Linked DNA regions of Homo sapiens: regions 2 and 3 are each linked to region 1. The links are contacts of gene promoters, found by promoter capture Hi-C in human tissues and cell types (Jung and others, 2019). All regions are on one chromosome and are shown on one strand. The core of a region is centred on a gene start or on the middle of the fragment in contact, and the rest is flanking DNA. Distances in the headings are between cores, read along the strand shown. Region 1 holds the start of GNAQ (G protein subunit alpha q). Region 2 overlaps GNA14 (G protein subunit alpha 14). Region 3 has its middle 15 kb from the start of GNA14.

Evidence for each region. The method cuts DNA at HindIII sites, captures the fragments that hold promoters and counts their contacts. A contact is called where the count stands out against the background at its distance.
Region 2: a fragment that was not itself captured here is called in contact with the fragment with the promoter of GNAQ in region 1 in 1 of the 25 tissues and cell types used here (mesenchymal stem cells).
Region 3: a fragment that was not itself captured here is called in contact with the fragment with the promoter of GNAQ in region 1 in 1 of the 25 tissues and cell types used here (dorsolateral prefrontal cortex).

The regions. Positions count from the first base shown.
Region 1 is chr9:78,030,105-78,033,293 of GRCh38, forward strand. It overlaps GNAQ (G protein subunit alpha q), which reads right to left and starts at 1,707. Exons shown (of 7, transcript NM_002072.5): 1 at 996-1,707. The coding sequence starts at 1,131. RefSeq lists an enhancer at 896-1,790. The HindIII fragment of the contact is 13,439 bases long and covers 1-3,189 here.
Region 2 is chr9:77,625,344-77,628,532 of GRCh38, forward strand. All of the region lies in intron 1 of GNA14 (G protein subunit alpha 14), which reads right to left. Among named protein-coding and RNA genes, the nearest start is that of GNA14, 21 kb to the right of the region's middle. The HindIII fragment of the contact is 5,566 bases long and covers 1-3,189 here.
Region 3 is chr9:77,661,726-77,664,914 of GRCh38, forward strand. No RefSeq gene overlaps it. Among named protein-coding and RNA genes, the nearest start is that of GNA14, 15 kb to the left of the region's middle. The HindIII fragment of the contact is 7,591 bases long and covers 1-3,189 here.

The sequences.
Region 1 (3,189 bases), core at 457-2,956:
TCCCGTTTTTCCTTCTCGCCCAGATTCCAAAGACATTAAAATGCTATCTGTTTTAAACAAAAGGTTTCTATTTGTTGCCAAGAGAGTAACTGAGAGACTGCACTGGTTTTCGGTAGTAACTATTGTGAACTGAGGCCTACATCTAGGTTGCCTCATTAAACAAAAGATACCGGTCGCTGTCAACAACCACACAGCACAACGCTCCCCTACCCTCATCTTTATCTAGAAGGAATGGTGCAGACGAGAATAACGCCTGTCACCATCCACTGGCCAACTCTTCTAGGCTCCCTCCTTTCGATGGTCTGGTGGCTAGAGAACAGCACTTGTGTGACACATTTGGGCTTGCCCTCCCGCCTCGCCCCCAGTACACAGACCCTTTCCTTGGAGGGCCAACCACTTGGCTTCCTCACCATGAGTGCTCCGGGAATCCAGCTGCGAGTCTGCCCACCGTTCCCCCATTCCCTCCTGACCCCATAGGGCACTGATAATGGATGCACACCGGCCACTCCACCGCAGGCCATCCCCCAACGTGCCCCGGCTCCGCTCGCCACCCGCTGGGCCACACACACGGCTCCCCACGCCACCACCCCATGGGGTGCCGCGGCCACGACACTGGAAGTTCAACCCCTCTGCCCACCTTTCCACCCCCGCGCCTCTGGTCGGAGTGATCTGCCATTTAGCAGATGCACAGCAGATAAGGTACAGCCCTCAGGGACACGAAAAGGAACAAGCCAAGGCACCGGGCAGGGCAGCCCCGACCCCTGTGCTGCGTGTGTGTGTCGCTGTGTGTGTGTGTGTGTGTGTGTGTGTGTGTGTCTGTGTGTAACGCGCCCGCGCGCCCGCGCGGGTGAAGGCAGTGGCCGGGGGCGCGCCCGGGAGGGTAGGGGCGAACCGCGGGCGCCGGGGGGCGGGGGCGCCGAAGGCAGCTGCCCCGCAGGGCCAAGGATGGTGGGCTGGGGGCGCAGAGGCCCGGCGGGGCCCCGGACGGTACTCACCGAGCAGCAGCAGCTTGAGCTCCCGGCGGGCGTCCCGCTTGTCCCTGCGGAGCTGCCGCTCGATCTCGTCGTTGATCCGCCGGGCTTCCTTGGCCTCCTCGCTCAGGCAGCACGCCATGATGGACTCCAGAGTCATTCTTCCAAAGTGCCTCCGCTGCAGCCCCGCCGGCACCCCCTGCTCACAGCGCGCACACACACCCTCCCGCCCTCGCTCCCCCGAGGCAGCGGTGGCCGCCGAGCCCCCGCCGCCCGGGCGCGCGTCCGGGACGAGCTCCGGGAACCGCCGCGGGGGCGGCGGCCAGGGCCGGGGCCACCAGGTGGGCCGGGGGCGCGGTGGGAGCGGATAGTCTGGGCCGACGGGAGAAGAGAGGCGGGCGCGGGAGGCGGGCGCTGGCTCGGGGGGCGCGTGAGAGAAGGCCGCCGCGCCCGGCCTCGCTCAGACGCCCGCGCCTCCTTCCCCGGGAACAGGCGGCCCGCCTCGCCCCCCGAGCCGCCGCCGCCGCCGCCGCCTGCGAGGCTCCCCTACGCCGTGCGCCTGGCGGCGAGAGCTCATTCACCGGGGTGTCCCCGCAGCGAGCGGCCGCCGACGGCTCCCCGCGCCCGGCGCGCCCGCTCCTCGCCGCCGCCTGACACGGCTCCCGGGCGCCCTCGGCCCTGTCCGCGCCCACCGCCCGGCTCGCGCGCAGACCCGGTTCCCGTCCCGCCCGGCAACCGCGCGCTCCTCCGCCTCCGCCTCCGCCCCCGCCCCCGCCAGACGCCCACCCCCTGCCCCGATTGCCAGGCGCGGAGCGGCTGCTCAGTGCGAGCCCTCCCCCTCGCCACACACACACATTTTCTTCTTTCTCTGAACTGGAGCACAGATCCGGGAGGGAGGAGGCGGCGGCGAAAGGAGGAGGAGGAAGAGGCGGAGGGGATGGGCGCGGGAGGAGGGAGCCGGGAGGCGGTGCCGCCCGGCCCCTCCTGGAAGGCTTTCCTGGGCTCGCGGCCGCCGCGGCGCGCCTCCCAGTGCGGCTCTCGCCTCGCCCGCGCGGCTCCCGGGCTGGGCCGGCCCCCGCGGGCTCTGCGGACGCCTACTGCTCCCGCACCCTCGGCAGAGTCCGCGGGCGCAGCAGTCACGGCCGCCCCCGGCCGAAGTCGGGGCCAGACCCGGCCGCCGACGCGCAGCCCGAGCCGGCGGCCGCCGTTGCGTGCCAGGGCCGCAGCCGACCTGCGGCTGCCGTCCGGCCGGGCGTGGTGAGACAGGAATATGGCGGCCTCTGCCTGCCTCAGCCCACCGGCCCGGGAGCGCGGCCGCGGCCCCTGCTGAAGTCGCGGGAGGCGGCCCCGCGGAGCCCCGCACGCGCTCCCTGCGGCGCCGGCGCTGGCGTCCGCCGCTCCCGGGCTGTGCCTGTCTGCTCCACGGGGTCGCTCCTCAGCCGTTTCTGTGTTTCCCGTTCCTATTTCTAAAACGCCATTCGGTTAGAAACTCTCACGTCACCTCTGACACCGGTGCAGTCTTAGAAAATAAGCTCCTCTATACTGTGTGGGGCTACTGGGGAAGGGAAGGGAAGGAATTGGCACCGGTGCCCAGAGGTGTAGGGGGAGATTCACAGGCGAAGCTGTTCGCAAAGTAACGTGAGATAGAAATCTAAATCCTGAACAGAGAAAGGAAGCTGCCCAAGTTTCCAAGAGCCTCCCGATAGGTTCCAACTTTTCATGCCTTTGTTTTTTTGGTGGTTGTTGGTTGTTTTTGTTTTTTTAAGTTGTTTTTGTTTTTGTTTTACAAGTTCTCTTGTTTCTGAGAAGGCACACGATGTTTAGCCGCCGAGTAATCGAATTTACTCTTCTAGACTGAGATTGAATTATGGATGACTTATGGGAAAATGTAAAATAATGTGGAATAAAAGGAAAGGAAAGAATGAAATAGAAGAGAAACTAAGGAGGCCCCAGCAAAACGGCATTCTAGTTTTTTTGATTTGCAATATGTGATTGAGGCAGTAAACTGTCGTATGCACATTTCATTGTGATCGTCTACTGATAAATAGCACACGAAAATAATCTTGTTTAATCAGGCCCAGGAGATGAAACTCATATTGCTTCCTGCCTTAAAGGAACCTGAGGTCTTCAAAGAAAATTGTCTTTTATGAAGAGAACCGCTTTTTCACGTTTCATGTGTTCTCTGAAGTGTCCCTGGTGCAACCTGCTGATCCAGAGT
Region 2 (3,189 bases), core at 506-3,005, 400 kb before region 1:
ACTTCCCCCACCTAGCAAGACAGGCCAACATTCAAATTCAGGAAATACAGAGAACACAACAAAGATACTCAAGAAGAGCAACCCCAAGACAGATAGTTGTCAGGTTGAAATGAAGAAAAAAATGTTAAGGGCAGCCAGAGAGAAAGGTCGGGTTACCCACAAAGGGAAGCCCATCAGACTAACAGCTGATCTTTCAGCAGAAACTCTATAAGCCAAAAGAGAGTGGGGACCAATATTCAACATTTTTAAAGAAAAGAATTTTCAACCCAGAATTTCATATCCAGCCAAACTAAGCTTCATAAGCAAAGGAGAAATAAAATCCTTTACAGACAAGCAAATGCTGAGAGATTCTGTCACCACCAGGCCTGCCTTAGAAGAGCTCCTGAAGGAAGCACTAAATATGGAAAGGAAAAACCAGTACCAACCACTGCAAAAACATATCAAATTGTAAAGAATAACGACACTATTAAGAAACTGAATCAACTAATGTGCAAAATAACCAGCTAGCATCATAATGACAGGATAAAATTCACACATAACAATATTAACCTTAAATGTAAATGGGCTAAATGCCCCAATTAAAAGACACAGACTGACCAATTGGATAAAGAGCCAAGACCCCTTGGTGTGCTGTATTCAGGAGACCCATCTCATGTGCAAAGACACACATAGGCTCAAAATAAAGGGATGGAGGAATATTTACCAAGCAAATGGAAAGAAAAAAAAAAAGAAGCAGGGTTTGCAATCCTAGTCTCTGATAAAACAGACTTTAAATCAACGAAGATCAAAAGAGACAAATAAGGGCATTACATAATGGTAAAGGGATCAATGCAAAAAGAAGAGCTAACTATCCTAAATATATATGCACCCAATAGAGGAGCACCCAGATTCACAAAGCAAGTTCTTAGAGACCTACAAAGAGACTTAGACTCCCACACAATAATAGTGGGAGACTTTAACACCCCATTGTCAATATTAGATCAATGAGACAGAAAATTAACAAGGATATTCAGGACTTGAACTCAGCCCTGGACAAAGCGGACCTAATAGACATCTACAGAACTCTCCACCCCAAATCAACAGAATATACATTCTTCTCGGCACCACATTGCACTTAGTTTAAAATTGACCGCATCATTGGAAGTAAAACACCTCCTCAGCAAATGCAAAAGAACTGAAATAATAACAAACAGTCTCTCAGACCACAGTGCAATCAAATTAGAACTCAGGATTAAGAAACTCACTCAAAATCATAAAACTGCAAGGAAACTGAACAACCTGCTCCTGAATGACTACTAGGTAAATAATGAAATTAAAGCAGAAATAAATAAGTTATTTGAAAGCAATGAGTACACACAATGTACCAGAATCTCTGGGATACAGCTAAAGCAGTGTTTAGAAGTAAATTTATAGCACTAAATGCCCACAGGAGAAAGTGGGAAAGATCTAAAATCAACACCCTAACATCACAATGAAAAGAACTAGAGAAGCAAGAGCTAACAAACTGAAAAGCTAGCAGAAGACAAGAAACAGCTAAGATCAGAGCAGAACTGAAGAAGATAGAGACACGAACAACCCTTTAAAAAATCAATGAACGCAGGAGCTGGTTTTCTGAAAAGATTAACAAAATAGATAGACCACTAACAAGACAAATAAAGAAGAAAAGAGAGAAGACTCAAATAGACACACAAAAATGATAAAGAGGATATCACTACTGATCCCACAGAAATACAAACTACCATCAGAGAATACTATAAACACCTTTACATAAATAAACTAGAAAATCTAGAAGAAATTCATAAATTCCTGGACACATACACCCTCCCAAGACTAAACCAGGAAGAAGGTGAATCCCTGAATAGACTAATAACAGGTTCTGAAATTGAGGCAGTAATTAATAGCCTATGAACCAAAAAAAGGCCAGGAACAGATGGATTCACAGCCAAATTCTACCAGAGGTACAAAAAGGAGCTGGTACCATTCCTTCTGAAACTATTCCAAACAACAGAAAAAGAGGGACTCTTCCCTACCTCGTTTTAGGTGGCCAGCATTATCCTGATACCAAAACCTGGCAGAGACACAACAAAAAAAGAAAATTTCAGGCCACCTGAAATTCAGGCACCTGATGAACATCAATGCGAAAATCCTCAATAAAATACTGGCAAACTGAATCCAGCAGCACATCAAAAAGCTTATCCACCACAATCAAGTCAGCTTCATCCCTGGGATGCCAGGCTGGTTCAACATACGCAAATTAATAAATGTAATCCATCACGTAAACAGAACCAACGCCCAAAAACCACGATTATCTCAATAGATGCAGAAAAGGCCTTCAATAAAACTCAACACCCATTCATGCTAAAAACTCTCAATAAACTAGGTATTGATGGAACGTATCTCAAAATAATAAGAGCTATTTATGACAAACCCACAGCCAATATCATACTGAATGGGCAAAAGCTGGAAGCATTCCTTTTGAAAACTGGCCAAGACAAGGATACCCTCTCTCACCACCCCTATTCAACATAGTATTGGAAGATCTAGCCAGAGCAATCAGGCAAGAGAAAGAAAAAAAGGGTATTCAAATAGGAAGACAGGAAGTCAAATTGGCCCTGTTTGCAGATGACATGATTTTATATTTAGAAAACCCCAGTGCCTCAGCCCAAAATCTCCTTAAGCTGATAAGCAACTTCAGCAAAGTCTCAGGATACAAAATCAATGTGCAAAAATCACAAGCATTCCTATATACCAATAATAGACACACAGAAAACCAAATCATGAGTGAACTCCCATTCACAATTGCTACAAAGAGAATAAAATACCTAGGAATCCAACTTTTAAGGGATGTGAAGGACCTCTTCAAGAGAACTACAAACCACTGCTCAAGGAAATAAGAGAGGACACAAACAAATGGAAGGACATTTCATGCTCACGGATAGAACCAATAATGTGAAAATGGTCATACTGCTCAAAGTAATTTATAGATTCAATGCTATCCCCATCAAGCTACCATTGACTTTCTTCACAGAATTAGAAAAAACTACTTTAAATTTCACATGGAAGCAAAAAAGAGCCCATATAGCCAATACAATCCTAAGCAAAAAGAACAAAGCTGGAGGCAGCATACTACCTGACTTCAAACTATACTACAAGGCTACAGTAACCAAAACAGCATGGTACTGGTACCAA
Region 3 (3,189 bases), core at 511-3,010, 370 kb before region 1:
GACACTCTCCTCCAAGGTAGTCTCTCCCCCACCCCCAGGCTGTCGTGGGGGCTGAGGCAGATAAACTGAGGTGAAAAGTAGCAGCAGAATTTTCTCATCCCTCTGCCCTCTTCACCCAACCAGAGGCAGAGGCCTCCACTACAAGACACCCACTGCCCTAGTTTTGTTTCCCACTGCAACAGGAAACCAGGAGGCAGCTGTCGAGAATGAGGAGCAAGGCTGAGCGGTTTAAGACAACTCTCCTTGCTCCAAGCCTTTGCTTGAACTGTGTTCTCCTCTAAAACAAGAACTCGGAAATGATGTCTGAGAATCACCTGAAAAGCTGGTCAAAGCACGGATTTCTGAGCTGGACTCCAGAGATTCTGAGTCAGCAGGTCTGCAGCCCGTGGTGACCAACAAATCTCAGTTTACCTAGGATTTTTTCAGTTTTAGCATCAGAAGCCCAGCCCCCCTGGCAAGCACAGATGTTTGGTTACCCTAGGTAGGGCCCAAAGTTTTGCATTTCTAGAAATTCCCAGGTGATGCTGATGCCCTCATCAGCAGATAACACTCTGCCTGTGTGCCTCCCGGTTCAAGTGATTCTCCTGCCTCAGCCTCCCGAGTAGCTGGGATTACAGGCATGCACCACCATGCCCGGCTAACTTGTATTTTTAATAGAGATGGGGTTTCTCCATGTTGGTCAGGTGGTCTCGAACTCCCGACCTCAGGTGATTACCTGCCTCGGCCTCCCAAAGTGCTGGGATTACAGGCGTGAGCCACCGCGCCCAGCCTGTGTCCTCCTTTCTTTAGGATGTCTAGTTTAAAATATAAAATAACCTGGGGCTGCTCATGGTCATCTTTGCAAATACATGGAACAGTTCTACCTGAGTGTGGCACCAGCAAAGATACAAGCAAAGAGAAGCAGAGTGAGGAAGACAGTCATGTCCTGATTTGGTCCCCTGATATGAACCCCATATTCCCAGTTAACTGAGCCAAGAAATTTCCTTGTTTGTTTAAGCCAGTGTAGATTGAGTTTCTGTCACTTGCAATCAAAAGAATCATGGCTTAGGCTAGGCATGTGGCTCACGCTTGTAATCCCAGCATTTTGGGAGGCCAAGGCGGGTGGATCACCTGAGGTCAGGAGTTCGAGACCAGCCTGGCCAACATGGTGAAACCCCGTCTCTATTAAAAATACAAAATTAGCCAGGCATGGTGGTGGGTGCCTGTAATCCCAGGTACTCAGGAGGCTGAGGCAGGAGAATCGCTTGAACACCAGAGGTGGAGGCTGCAGTGAGCCGAGATTGTGCCATTGCACTCTCCAGCCTGAGCAACAGAGGGAGACTCCATCTCAAAAAAAAAAAAAAACATAAAAACCATGGCTAATGAACCTCACCTATGAGAAATGAAGAAGTAAGTGTTAGTGATAGGAAAAATATAATACCTTGAGGTCTAGTTATGATTATTTTACAGTGCCCTGATATTTCAATACCTACTTTATCAACTTCTGCAAGAAAGGATAATGGTAAATGGCCATCAGATTCTTCCTAGTTTGTCACAAGAATAAGCTGAACATGGACCAGGCAGTAGTTACACTTAATATAAATGAGCAAATGGGTCTTTTCAGCAACGTGGGGATCCTGTTTTGGTCTGACATTCTGCCAAATCGTCTTTCCTTCCCAGATGATCTTGATTGTGTCTTCAGTTACTACTTAAGGATCTGTGGTCAAATAGGTTTTTTTTTTTAAAAATGCTTGTATTCATAAACTATTTAGATGCAGCAAACTTACCAAATTTTGTGAGGACATAGAAGAATCTTTATGTTAAAGTTCTCCTGAACCTGTTCTTTTTATAAGCTGTCTCTCTTTGATATGGCATCAGTTGATTATTGAGAGCCAACTTGTCAGAAAAACCTGTACCTGTATCAAGATTATTTAGTTGAATCTGAAAAAAATAGAAGAAATAAGGATCCTGCTAATAAGGTCGAACATTCTAGTGCTTGCTTGGTAAAATTTGGAGAGCAAAGAGATCTTGGTGAATGATTACATAATTAAACTAAAAGATGGCTTTTCAGTGTCAGTGATTTTTGTTTCTGTTTGGATGATTATTTAAAAGAGTGACGTAGTTTCCCTCTGGCCACTGTCTTTATTTTCTTTGGCTTTTTGCTCATTTTGTGTGTAATGCACTGCAATGGGACCCTGAAGTCGCTAAGTGCCTTATGAGGAACTGGCTCCAATGACCTGCTTGCCAGTGCAAACAAGTCTGACAAGTTTAATGACCCCACTGAGCATAAAAGCAGCTGAGCCGGCCAGGCGGGCACAAGCTCTTCTCCGGTGGCATGCAACCAAGTCCAGGATTATTTCTGGTTTCAAATACTGAGTTTGGTTTTAAGGCTGTCTTCCAAACTACCCTGGCAACTGCTGTCTATCAATCATACCTTCTTTCCATCTTTCACAAATGTTTATTAGAATCTGCAGCTGGGGTCAGAGAGATGGGTAGGACTTGAACTCTTTTCTGATGGAACTTCCAGTCCTGTCAGGGAGATGGGTCTATCAATACACTTAAAAGGACACAGCCTAATAGTGCTGTGATGTGCCCCACAGGCTTAGGGATCATGGAGAAGGGGAGCTCTCTGCAATAGAGAGTATTTTCTCTATTAGAGACATTTTATTAATGAGTATGCTCGTGTGTAACACTCTTCCTCGGTAACGGTCATTTCTCAAAATACTTCTAAAAAAATAAAGAAAAAATCAGTTTCTCAGCTCTATGTGCTGTAACTCTATGATGAAGGTTTTCCCTACTTTTTATTTGGAGGTTTTTCAAACATACGGATAATTTGCAATAATGATATAATGAACAGTTGTAAACTCTTTACCTAGATTCACCAGTTGTTAACTTTCCCCCATATCTGCTTTATCTTTTTACTCTCTGAAAATATGAATTCACTAAATGATTTGAAAGTAAGTTGCAAACATCACGGCTCTTCTCCTCTAAATAATTCAACCAACACTGCCTAAAATAAGTGCATTCTCTTATAAACACACGATATTATTATTACACTGAGAAATGTAAAATTCCATAATATAACGTACAATCCATATTCAAATACACCAAGTTGTCTCAAAAATATTTTTTATGGCTGTTTATTATTTTAATCTAGGATATGATCAGGGTTTGTGCACTGGATTTGGTTCTCAGTCTAATCTAGAACAG